2 separate regions of the Homo sapiens genome follow, and region 2 is linked to region 1. Evidence: promoter capture Hi-C in human tissues and cell types (Jung and others, 2019). All regions are on one chromosome and are shown on one strand. The core of a region is centred on a gene start or on the middle of the fragment in contact, and the rest is flanking DNA. Distances in the headings are between cores, read along the strand shown.

What was found. Contacts are between HindIII fragments. The study calls those that stand out against the background at their distance.
Region 2: the fragment with the promoter of PI3 here is called in contact with the fragment with the promoter of SEMG2 in region 1 in 2 of the 25 tissues and cell types used here (mesendoderm cells and small bowel).

What each region holds. Positions count from the first base shown.
Region 1 is chr20:45,217,588-45,223,065 of GRCh38, forward strand. SEMG2 (semenogelin 2) reads left to right here and starts at 3,786. Exons shown (of 3, transcript NM_003008.3): 1 at 3,786-3,878; 2 at 4,122-5,478. The coding sequence starts at 3,803. The HindIII fragment of the contact is 14,800 bases long and covers 1-5,478 here.
Region 2 is chr20:45,173,257-45,178,873 of GRCh38, forward strand. PI3 (peptidase inhibitor 3) reads left to right here and starts at 1,646. Exons shown (of 3, transcript NM_002638.4): 1 at 1,646-1,745; 2 at 2,605-2,880; 3 at 3,114-3,288. The coding sequence starts at 1,667. The coding sequence ends at 2,879. RefSeq lists an enhancer at 1,236-2,435. The HindIII fragment of the contact is 10,589 bases long and covers 1-5,617 here.

The sequences.
Region 1 (5,478 bases), core at 2,536-5,035:
ATCTTGTTCTGCCACCCTCCTCTCTTAATTTTTATTCTCTCTGAACGATTTTATTTCTCCTTCATTTCTGAAGGATAGCTTTGCTGAGGGTAATGTTCTTAGCTGACAGTTTTCTCTTTTAGTAATTTGAATATATTATGCCATTCTTTCCTGGCCTGTAAGGTTTCTCCCGAGAAATTCTCTGTTAGTCAGATGGGGGTTACCTTATATGTGACTTGACATTTTTCTCTTGCTGCTTTTAAAAATCTTTCTTTGTCTTTGACTTTTAGCAATGCAATTAAAATGTGCCTTGGAGAGAACCCGTTTAGGTTGAATTTATTTAGGGTTCTTATAGCTTCCTGGACCTGGATTTCTATCTCTCTCCCAAGATGCAAGAAGTTTTCTGCTATTATTTTATGCGTCTGATGGAAAAGTTGCCTCTTCCAATTTTATGGAGTAGATTTTATAAGCGAAAACTTATTTTTATGAATGGGTCTTTAGGTGTTAGTTCATTTGAGTTTGTTGGTTTTTGTTGCAGGTGTATGTAGCAGTATTGTTTCCATAGAGTTTCTTCACCTATGATCCACACTTGTGGCACTTGAGAGTTTCTCAGCGCCCTAGTTGAGAGAGTGTGCTGCTACAGTGGCATGGCTTTGCCAGTGCTGTGGTTCCAGCGCTAATTCTCAGGTCAGGGGTGTGTGCATCCACGTGGTAGGTAATTCAATTAAGGTATGACTCAATGGTATTGGGGCCAGGGTGCTGTTATCCTGGCTGGAAGCATGGGCACATGTTTGTTCAGTCAGTGAGTGTGACTACAGGCTAGGGGTGGCCTGTGAAGCTGTTTCTTGGTTTCAGGACGTGGAAGTACAGCTTCTCAACTGGTCTGAAGACATGTCTGCCAGGGTCAGTCTACTGGGCTTTTTCTCAGGCCCAAGATGTGGGTGTAAGGCTGCTTGGATGGCCTACGAGAGGAAGGGAATGAGAGAGGAAAGAGGGCTTTTTCTCAGGCACTTGACACAGCTGCATGGCTGAGTGGCTAGGCTTTGAGCATTTCTGTAAGGGGTGGCCCAAGAAGATATTCTGTAGGCCTAGGGTGTAGGCATGGAGCTTCTTGGTTGTCCTTCATGTGTGACCACCAGAGGCAATCTGTAGGACTGTTTCTCAGACCTGGGACATGACCACATAACTACTTGGCTGGCTTGGGTATGCCCACCAGGGGTGGCCCATGGGCTGTTTCTCAGGTTTGGGAAATGGGCTCTCGGCAGCTGGGCCAGCGTGGTGTCAAGCCCAGCAGGGGAGCTTGTGAGTCTGTTTCTCAAGCTCTTATTGGGAGTATAGGGCCACTGAGCAGGCCATGGATGTGTCTCTGGAGGGAGAGAGTGTTACAGGGCTATTTCTCAGGTACTCAGTGTGGACACATAGCCACTGTGCTGCCACAGGGGCATATAAACTGTGTCAAGCTCAGTGACCTGTCTCCTACTTGGTGAACTTTAAAATATTCTACTATTTTTTCCTTGTTTATTTTTTATCATTTGATATTTTCCCAATCATGATACCACATCTAAGATGTATGCAGCACTATACCATGTTTATGCTTTCCAAATTACCGATTTCTGCTTTCATCTTTATCAATAGATTTATTTTTAATTTTGAAATGCTTTTTTTTCAAATTTCATTAAATCCAATCATGATATGAGTATCATAATCACATGTTGTGCCTAGTTTGCATTTTCCTGCTTTGTTTTTGCAAATCTTGTGCACCTTTGTTTTATCTGTATCTTTTGGACACTAGATTAGTTGGAAGTTTTGTTCTTGATCCATAAGTAAGATTAATATTTCAGACTCTTGTTTGTTCCGGTAATCTTGGAACACAACAGTTCCTGGTATTTCCTTAAGGGAAGTGTAAGGAAGATTATAGTGATTAGCAGGTACAGCAATAAATTTGTGTTCAGGAAAACTTTACTCTTTTCTTTTGGGGTCCCTGCCATAAGGAAATACTTACTGCCCTTAGGGCAAACAGATAAAACTGGTAAGATCTCAGAATGGCTCATAGAGAAACCACATAGCTCACATGCTTCAAGTTTGATGGCATAAGTAGCATTTTTTCCTATGGTTGGCCTTTCCCCTCTCCCCTTCCATATAGCATTGCTTACAGGAAGGTTAGGATTTTAAGAGAGAATAATAGAAAATAAGTTTCCAAGCCGTCCTTTCTCCAGAACTACCCTCCACAGTGTTCTGAATGCATACAGGGTCACTGTTCAAATGTTGCTGCTTCTCCTGTTGTCTTCTCATAACAAGGACTTTTTCAGTCAAAGTAAAGAAACTGGCCGGGTGCAGTGGCTCATGCCTGTAATCCCAGCAGTTTGGGAGGCTGAGGCGGGCGGATCACGAGGTCAGGAGATTGAGACCATCCTGGCTAACACGGTGAAACCCCGTCTCTACTAAAAATACAAAAAATTAGCCGGGCGTGGTGGCAGGCACCTGTAGTCCCAGCTACTTGGGAAGCTGAGGCAGGAGAATGGCATGAACCTGGGAGGCACAGCTTGCAGTGAGCCGAGATGGTGCCACTGCACTCCAGCCTGGGCGACAGAGCGAGACTCTGTCTCAAAAACAAACAAACAAAAAAAACAAAACAAACAAACAAACAAACAAAAAACCTTCCTTGGATTTTTCAAGAAGTTTTCACAATTGCAAAAAAACAAAACAAAACAACACAACACAACAAAACAAAACAAAAGCAAAAAAACCCTATGCTTCCACCCAAGGTAAAAATTTTAGCTTTAGGTCCACTCTCAATACATTATTTAATGAACTGAAGTTGGCAAATATTCCTCACAGCCTGTTGGAGGGTTCAGCAGTTTATTACAGAAGTATGAAATGCTTTTATTTAAAAAATGTATTTTGGTAAATACATTTTTGTTTAGGTAAATATCATCAAATAATCCAATTTGGAAACCAACATTCTTACTTCTTTTTCCAACAGTTGTTCCTATCATCATAAAAACATGTTAAATTTTTCTCATCCTTTCAAAAAATCTCTGGAGCTTACCTCACCCTCCAGATACAGCCTCACCTCTCATTCCACCATGAAATCAGACTTCTTGAGATGGTTTCAGCTGGACTCCATCCTTCAACTGACAACCCAACACAACTGTATTCATCTCTCGTTAACATTACTAGCAGTGAGTAACATCAGAAAGTTTTTGACACATGTTAGTCTTTTTTGTGATGAACTTCACAGATACATTTGACATTGGTATGCCTCATTTATTTGTTGAAATTTTTTTCTTTGGCTTCCATGAAGTTTCTTTCTCTTCTGTATCATTCTACTTCTATGACTGCTCCTTCTCGAGTAAAACAGAATGTGTCTCAGGATTACTTTAAAACAAGACAAAGTATAGAGTTATACCTAAAATTTAGTATTTAAGTTATTGGATCAGAAAGGAAACTCGCATTTAGAGTATGAAGGCATTGTCAGCCACCAATTACTTTTGTAACCTGAAGCTAGTCTCCTTCCTACTCCGGACTGAATTTCTTCTGTATAATGCAAGCGATCTGGCATGATGATATACAAAGACCGATAAAATTTTGCTGGGGATTCTGAAAGTAAAAAAAATTGCCTTTGATATTATGTCCCCATGCTAAGTCCCTGGGGACTTTGACATTATCCCCCACTGAGCAGGGGTGAGGAAGCTGGCATTTACTAATAAGCTATGAAAGGGCAGTGCCTTTTGACATTTCAGCTCCACCCATAGCACACCCACTCAAGGAACATATAAATGAAGAGATCCGCTCAGTTCTCAGACAAGATTTTTCAAGCAAGATGAAGTCCATCATCCTCTTTGTCCTTTCCCTGCTCCTTATCTTGGAGAAGCAAGCAGCTGTGATGGGACAAAAAGGTGAGTGGAGAGGGTAAGCCTTGGGGAAAGCTACTTTAAAAAAATGGCCTCTAAGGATATTCAGGGTGCAAACAGTAACCTGTTCAGGCACAGATTCTTCTCCTTGATGAGAATTGATTTTTCTCCACCCAACGCTGTAGGCTTTTGGAAATATCAGAAATTTGTTGGGAAAAGGTGGGAGGTAAGAGTTGCAAGAGAGCTTTGGAGATAATGAATGCATACATTTCTATTATCAATTACCAGGTGGATCAAAAGGCCAATTGCCAAGCGGATCTTCCCAATTTCCACATGGACAAAAGGGCCAGCACTATTTTGGACAAAAAGACCAACAACATACTAAATCCAAAGGCAGTTTTTCTATTCAACACACATATCATGTAGACATCAATGATCATGACTGGACCCGAAAAAGTCAGCAATATGATTTGAATGCCCTACATAAGGCGACAAAATCAAAACAACACCTAGGTGGAAGTCAACAACTGCTCAATTATAAACAAGAAGGCAGAGACCATGATAAATCAAAAGGTCATTTTCACATGATAGTTATACATCATAAAGGAGGCCAAGCTCATCATGGGACACAAAATCCTTCTCAAGATCAGGGGAATAGCCCATCTGGAAAGGGATTATCCAGTCAATGTTCAAACACAGAAAAAAGGCTATGGGTTCATGGACTAAGTAAAGAACAAGCTTCAGCCTCTGGTGCACAAAAAGGTAGAACACAAGGTGGATCCCAAAGCAGTTATGTTCTCCAAACTGAAGAACTAGTAGTTAACAAACAACAACGTGAGACTAAAAATTCTCATCAAAATAAAGGGCATTACCAAAATGTGGTTGACGTGAGAGAGGAACATTCAAGTAAACTACAAACTTCACTCCATCCTGCACATCAAGACAGACTCCAACATGGACCCAAAGACATTTTTACTACCCAAGATGAGCTCCTAGTATATAACAAGAATCAACACCAGACAAAAAATCTCAGTCAAGATCAAGAGCATGGCCGGAAGGCACATAAAATATCATACCCGTCTTCACGTACAGAAGAAAGACAACTTCACCATGGAGAAAAGAGTGTACAGAAAGATGTATCCAAAGGCAGCATTTCTATCCAAACTGAAGAGAAAATACATGGCAAGTCTCAAAACCAGGTAACAATTCATAGTCAAGATCAAGAGCATGGCCATAAGGAAAATAAAATATCATACCAATCTTCAAGTACAGAAGAAAGACATCTCAACTGTGGAGAAAAGGGCATCCAGAAAGGTGTATCCAAAGGCAGTATTTCGATCCAAACTGAAGAGCAAATACATGGCAAGTCTCAAAACCAGGTAAGAATTCCTAGTCAAGCTCAAGAGTATGGCCATAAGGAAAATAAAATATCATACCAATCTTCGAGTACAGAAGAAAGACGTCTCAACAGTGGAGAAAAGGATGTACAGAAAGGTGTATCCAAAGGCAGTATTTCTATCCAAACTGAAGAGAAAATACATGGCAAGTCTCAAAACCAGGTAACAATTCCTAGTCAAGATCAAGAGCATGGCCATAAGGAAAATAAAATGTCATACCAATCTTCAAGTACAGAAGAAAGACGACT
Region 2 (5,617 bases), core at 396-2,895, 46 kb before region 1:
CTCTGGGGAGGAAGGAGAATGAAGCAACTGAGGAGAGGCATGGAGCATAGATATAGCAAATATTCTCCTCCTTTACCTGGCAGCTCATTTTAATGCTATTCTTTAAAGAATATAGGTATTTTCTGTGAGCTTTTTATTTGTTTGTATGGCTTATTGTACAATGAGCTTTTGTGTAAGGTAGCCAAAGGCTTCCACAGTCTGACATTCGTTTATGTCTCCCTCAGTTTCAGGCTTGGTGGGCATGTGGTCAGAGTCTAAATCGACAAGGGGTGGGGATTTCACCAGCTGAATTAGTGTCCAATAATTAGTTTGTTACCTTCCCTGCCTTAACTCCACCTCAACTCAGTGACTTTCTTAACTCAGATTCTGTCCCTGACAATACCCAACTTCAGGATATTCATTTCTATTACTCAGAACTTTTGGTAACAATGACAGAATAGTAAGTCAGACTAGCTGAAGCAGAGGGCTAATTTATTGCCTCATAACCCAACCATGAGAAGGGTGTGTGAAGAACTGCTCTCAAGGTAAAGGAGGGAAACCTGGCTGTGTCATCTGAATCTTCTCTCACCATCACTTCTCTCCTTGTCTCAGTGTATTAGAGTCGTTTTTCTCAGACAATTGATCTCCACCCCCAGACTTAGATAACCACTTCTGGAATTCCCTGGTTCATATATATCACCTTTTCCAGAAGAAGGAACCCCCGTTTTCCCCTTTCATTACTCATTCAAATAAAATATGTTAATAGACCAGACCAAGTCTCACACACAACACACACACACACACTCACACACACACACACACACACACACCCCTACCTGTGGTCAGGGGTCAGGCTTTCATGATTAGCAGTCCCCATTAGACTCACAAGTTGATGGTTCAAAGAGACAACAATTCTTCACAAGAAACAGGGTGCTGTTCAAAGAAGTGGGGAGGCATGCTGGACACACACACTGTAGATGTCCAATGTATACATGATACATGTTTTCTACTACTTTCTGATTATTTTCTCCCTACCACTGTGATTTCAAGGGCATCATCCCTCTTCAGACCTAGAATTCCACCTTCCAATTACTTTCTTGATGCATCTGAAAGGCCGTCTCTGAAACAGCAAAGTGCAATAATTAGTCATTATGTATTCAAGGCAAATTTGTCTTACAGAGTTTTTTGCAGGACCAGGGAAGAAGGAAGGAAATGCCCAGTTTGATGCTGGGAGTGGTAAAATGATAAAGTAGATCTGGGTGGGGTTTGTAGCACCAGAGCATAATGGAGAAACACCTTGGTTTTGTAATCAAGACTGGATCTACCAGTGACTTGCTGAATAACCTTCGGTGATTCCTTTCTCTTCTTGGGTCTCACTGTATTTCAAAACATGAAGAATTTCATTGTAATGTTACCTAATAAGTGAGCCAGCACTTCTACTCTGTGAGAAAGTAGGAAAACTCTTGGGACAATCAGAGATGATGTGATGTAATGTCCATTAGTTCTTCCTGTGAATAATCCTGAGGGAAAGCCCCCAGGTCCCTCCCAGAATGGGGTGGATATTTCCCAATACAGCTAAGGAATTATCCCTTGTAAATACCACAGACCCGCCCCTGGAGCCAGGCCAAGCTGGACTGCATAAAGATTGGTATGGCCTTAGCTCTTAGCCAAACACCTTCCTGACACCATGAGGGCCAGCAGCTTCTTGATCGTGGTGGTGTTCCTCATCGCTGGGACGCTGGTTCTAGAGGCAGCTGTCACGGGAGGTGAGTGAACAGGTGACCTGCTGGGCTGGGTTGGACTAAGGGGAGACCCTCTGGGACACCCTGGGCCAGGACAGGGAGCACTTCTGAAGCAGTAGGCAGCACTGGAGCCCAGATTTCAGCTTTCTGTTCTTTGCCATCATATTCAGAAAAAATAGGACTTTGGCTGGTGGACTCCACGTGCTTTCCACCTCAGTGACTGAGATATCAGGACTGTTTGTGGAAGTAATGTTGGTATGTGGCCTTGGCCTCAGATGTCAATACCTGTGCAGAATGTGCAATAAAATAATGAACTCCAGGATTTTAAACCTTGGGTGTGGACACAGTCCCCCGTTTCTCTGCCCCATAAAAGCACTGGAGTAATCAGTACTCTAAAAGGAGGTTAAGAAACAACAAGCCTTCAGGAATCATGTTGTTTGAGGACCCCCATTTTATAAGGAGGGAACCAAAAATGTAGAAATGAGTGAGCAATTGCCAAGGTAATTCCCAGAGCCAGGATGGGGCTCAAGTCTCCTAGTATGTGGCTCAGGGTTCTTTCCTACTCCAATGCACTTCCTAACAAATGACAATGTGTCCTCTTCACTGCTGGGTGTCACCCCAGTCTGACCACTGCTCCTGAGAGACTTGGAGTGGAGGAAGGGGGAAGAAACAAATACTCAAGGGAACTCTGGTCCAGTAGACCACCCCAAAAAAGGAAGAGCCTTCCAAGAGTGTAGCTCCCAGAGGTGTACCTTCCCTACTCAGGCCATGGTTTGAGGATGCTGCAGTAAGCAGTGGATGGACCCAGACCCAGAGGAAAGACATGGCAGCTGAAGCAGAGGCTTACTGGGTATAAATGTGGGCTCGTTTCTTCTTTTAACAGTTCCTGTTAAAGGTCAAGACACTGTCAAAGGCCGTGTTCCATTCAATGGACAAGATCCCGTTAAAGGACAAGTTTCAGTTAAAGGTCAAGATAAAGTCAAAGCGCAAGAGCCAGTCAAAGGTCCAGTCTCCACTAAGCCTGGCTCCTGCCCCATTATCTTGATCCGGTGCGCCATGTTGAATCCCCCTAACCGCTGCTTGAAAGATACTGACTGCCCAGGAATCAAGAAGTGCTGTGAAGGCTCTTGCGGGATGGCCTGTTTCGTTCCCCAGTGAGGTGAGCACTAGCTGGAGAACGAGGAGACCCCTGAAGACACAAAAGAAGGCTGAGCGGTGGGGAAGCATCCCAGGTTGGTGGGAGGGAGGTTGTGGGAGGTGACAGAAAGACTGGGAGACTGAGGGGTCTGAGAGGCTATAACCAGAGTGCCTAGAAGGATGATCTGTCTTCCTCACTGCCTCTGAGTGCTTTGATGTGCTGACTCTCACCTCTGATACTCTTCTCTTCCACAGAGGGAGCCGGTCCTTGCTGCACCTGTGCCGTCCCCAGAGCTACAGGCCCCATCTGGTCCTAAGTCCCTGCTGCCCTTCCCCTTCCCACACTGTCCATTCTTCCTCCCATTCAGGATGCCCACGGCTGGAGCTGCCTCTCTCATCCACTTTCCAATAAAGAGTTCCTTCTGCTCCACTTGTTTCTGGTTCCTATGACTTCTGGGCTCCTGGATGCTTTGGGGAAATGGATGTAGAATTGGGACTTCTTCTCTCCAGTGAAGAGGGGAAACGGTCCCATGGTGAAAGAGAGCAGGGCGGGGGGAGGAAACAGGAGGCACATTGCTAGGGCTTCATATTACAAATCCAATAATCAGCCCCAGTGCTGCCAGCTCCTTTTCACCAGGAAATGGAAATATGGAAATCTTGCCTTTGGCCAAGGACCAGGAAAAACACAAAACACAAAAAATAAATAAACATTACATAAACCATAAGCAGGTCTTTTTTTTCCAATCCACCATCAGTCCTGACCTGGCTACTGTCGGCCTTACCAGTGTGACCAGCCAACCCTTATGGCTGCAACTACAGCTCCCCACTTCCTTCTCATTAATGTTTCCCAGGAATCTATATCTTTTCAACACCACATAGAAAGGATGATGTTACAGATGCTGCGAAACTCCTGCTCTTTAGAATTTCACTGGTTTATGCCTGAGATTCCTCCATGAAGTAGCATTCCTTTAGGTTAAGCAATATTCTCTTCCAGATTTCTGTTTTAAGATGTGAATGAGGAGGCAAGATACACTAAGTCCTTCATACTATGGTGTCAGAGGTTTGGGTGAATAGCATTCTCTGGAGACATACATGTTGGGGGCAGGGCAGACTTGAGTAGTGGAGAAAGGGGCAGGAATATGAGCAACCTCATGGCTCTCCTGTTGACCCACTCGTCCCACTGCGATTGCACAAGGAAACTCTCAGAGAAGGCCACAGCCCCCAGGAGGGGAGCAGCCTGGGTGAAGGGGAATAAGCACAGGCTTGACAGTCAGGTGATCTCAGCACTGGCTTTGCCTCCCCACGTATTGGGTGACCTCTGGCAAATGTATGTCCCCCTTCCAGGCCTCAGAGGTCTATTTCAGTTGAGGGGGTAAGGTATAATTATTCTGCAAAGGAAGGTCTAATCCTGCCACTCTGGGATATGAAACAGCTCTTCTTTGTGTATTGGGTTCTTGCTCTGAGATGACATGGGGAGCAGAGGCTTGGGGTGAGACAATGTGGATCCCTGCACCACTTTGCCCCATCCACGAGCATCTGAGCCATGATTTTTCCCTATTGTTCAGAGGCTAGTCCGAACAACTGTAGGGCTTTGACACTAGGGTGTCTTGGAGTACAGGTGACAGCAGTACCCAAACTTCTGGCTTGACAAATACAAAATACATCATTGGAGGAAATAATGGTTTCTGTTTTTTAATATTTACTCTATTTCCTATACCTAGTAGATTACATGTATTGTCACTTATTTTTCATAAGTCCCTTTCAGATGGCCATTATACATATTTTATTTTCTAATTTTGTAAAAAGATTGAAGCTAAGAGAGATTAAGTAACCATTAAAAGCCACAAGGTTAGTAAGTGATAGTAAATGATATTTTTATTATATGCTAGCAACAATCAGTTAGACATGCTGCATTTTCTATTATTAATATCAACAAAATCACACCATTGCTATAAATAAACAAGAGAGAGGCAGAGCTTTAGAAGAGAAATCTATGTAACTTTTCAGAGGCATATAAAAATGCTTGAATATACACATACTCACAATACATGAATATGCACATATCACAATACATGAAGACTATGTGGTGAAGATGTCACTATTTACTCAATATTTAATATTTATTTAATTTATCCCTAAGGTGTATTATACCCAAAATCCATTTTTAATATGGTGTGGTTATGGAGGTTAAGGGAACTTGAAACCATACTTAAGTTTATGGGGAAGCATAAATTCTTGTGAATAGGCGTAGATGTTTACAAATGAAGATTAACCCTAGGGCTCTGGAACCTCCTAGACTTAAAAAAAAGTTTTGCAAAGTAACAATAATCAATATGTTGTTTTTATTAGAAGAATAGTCAGGTTGAGAAATCAATAGAAAACAAAAGAAAACCCAGAATCAGGCCTCATTATATCTAATTCAGGTAAAGATCAATGTCAAGTTCCAAAACAATGAAGAAAACTTGAATTTTTTAAGAAACAAGATTCAGACGGTAGGTTCACTATTTGCAAAAACAAAAGAACTAACTCTGGTCTGAATTCAGGCAAAGATTAAGCCACTGAGAGAGAAAAATTGAAAGGTTCCAAAAAGACACTTTCTTTTCGCTCAGGAAGCAGGCCAGGATGACAGTCCATGCCTAGCAAGGTAGCTGAGCAACTCAAGATCTCACAGAGACCAGTGGTTTCTTCCATCCAGGATTTGCTGTGGAACAGAGACTGTAATTCCTTTCATGTTCAGTCAGGCAGGGACACATCTCCCA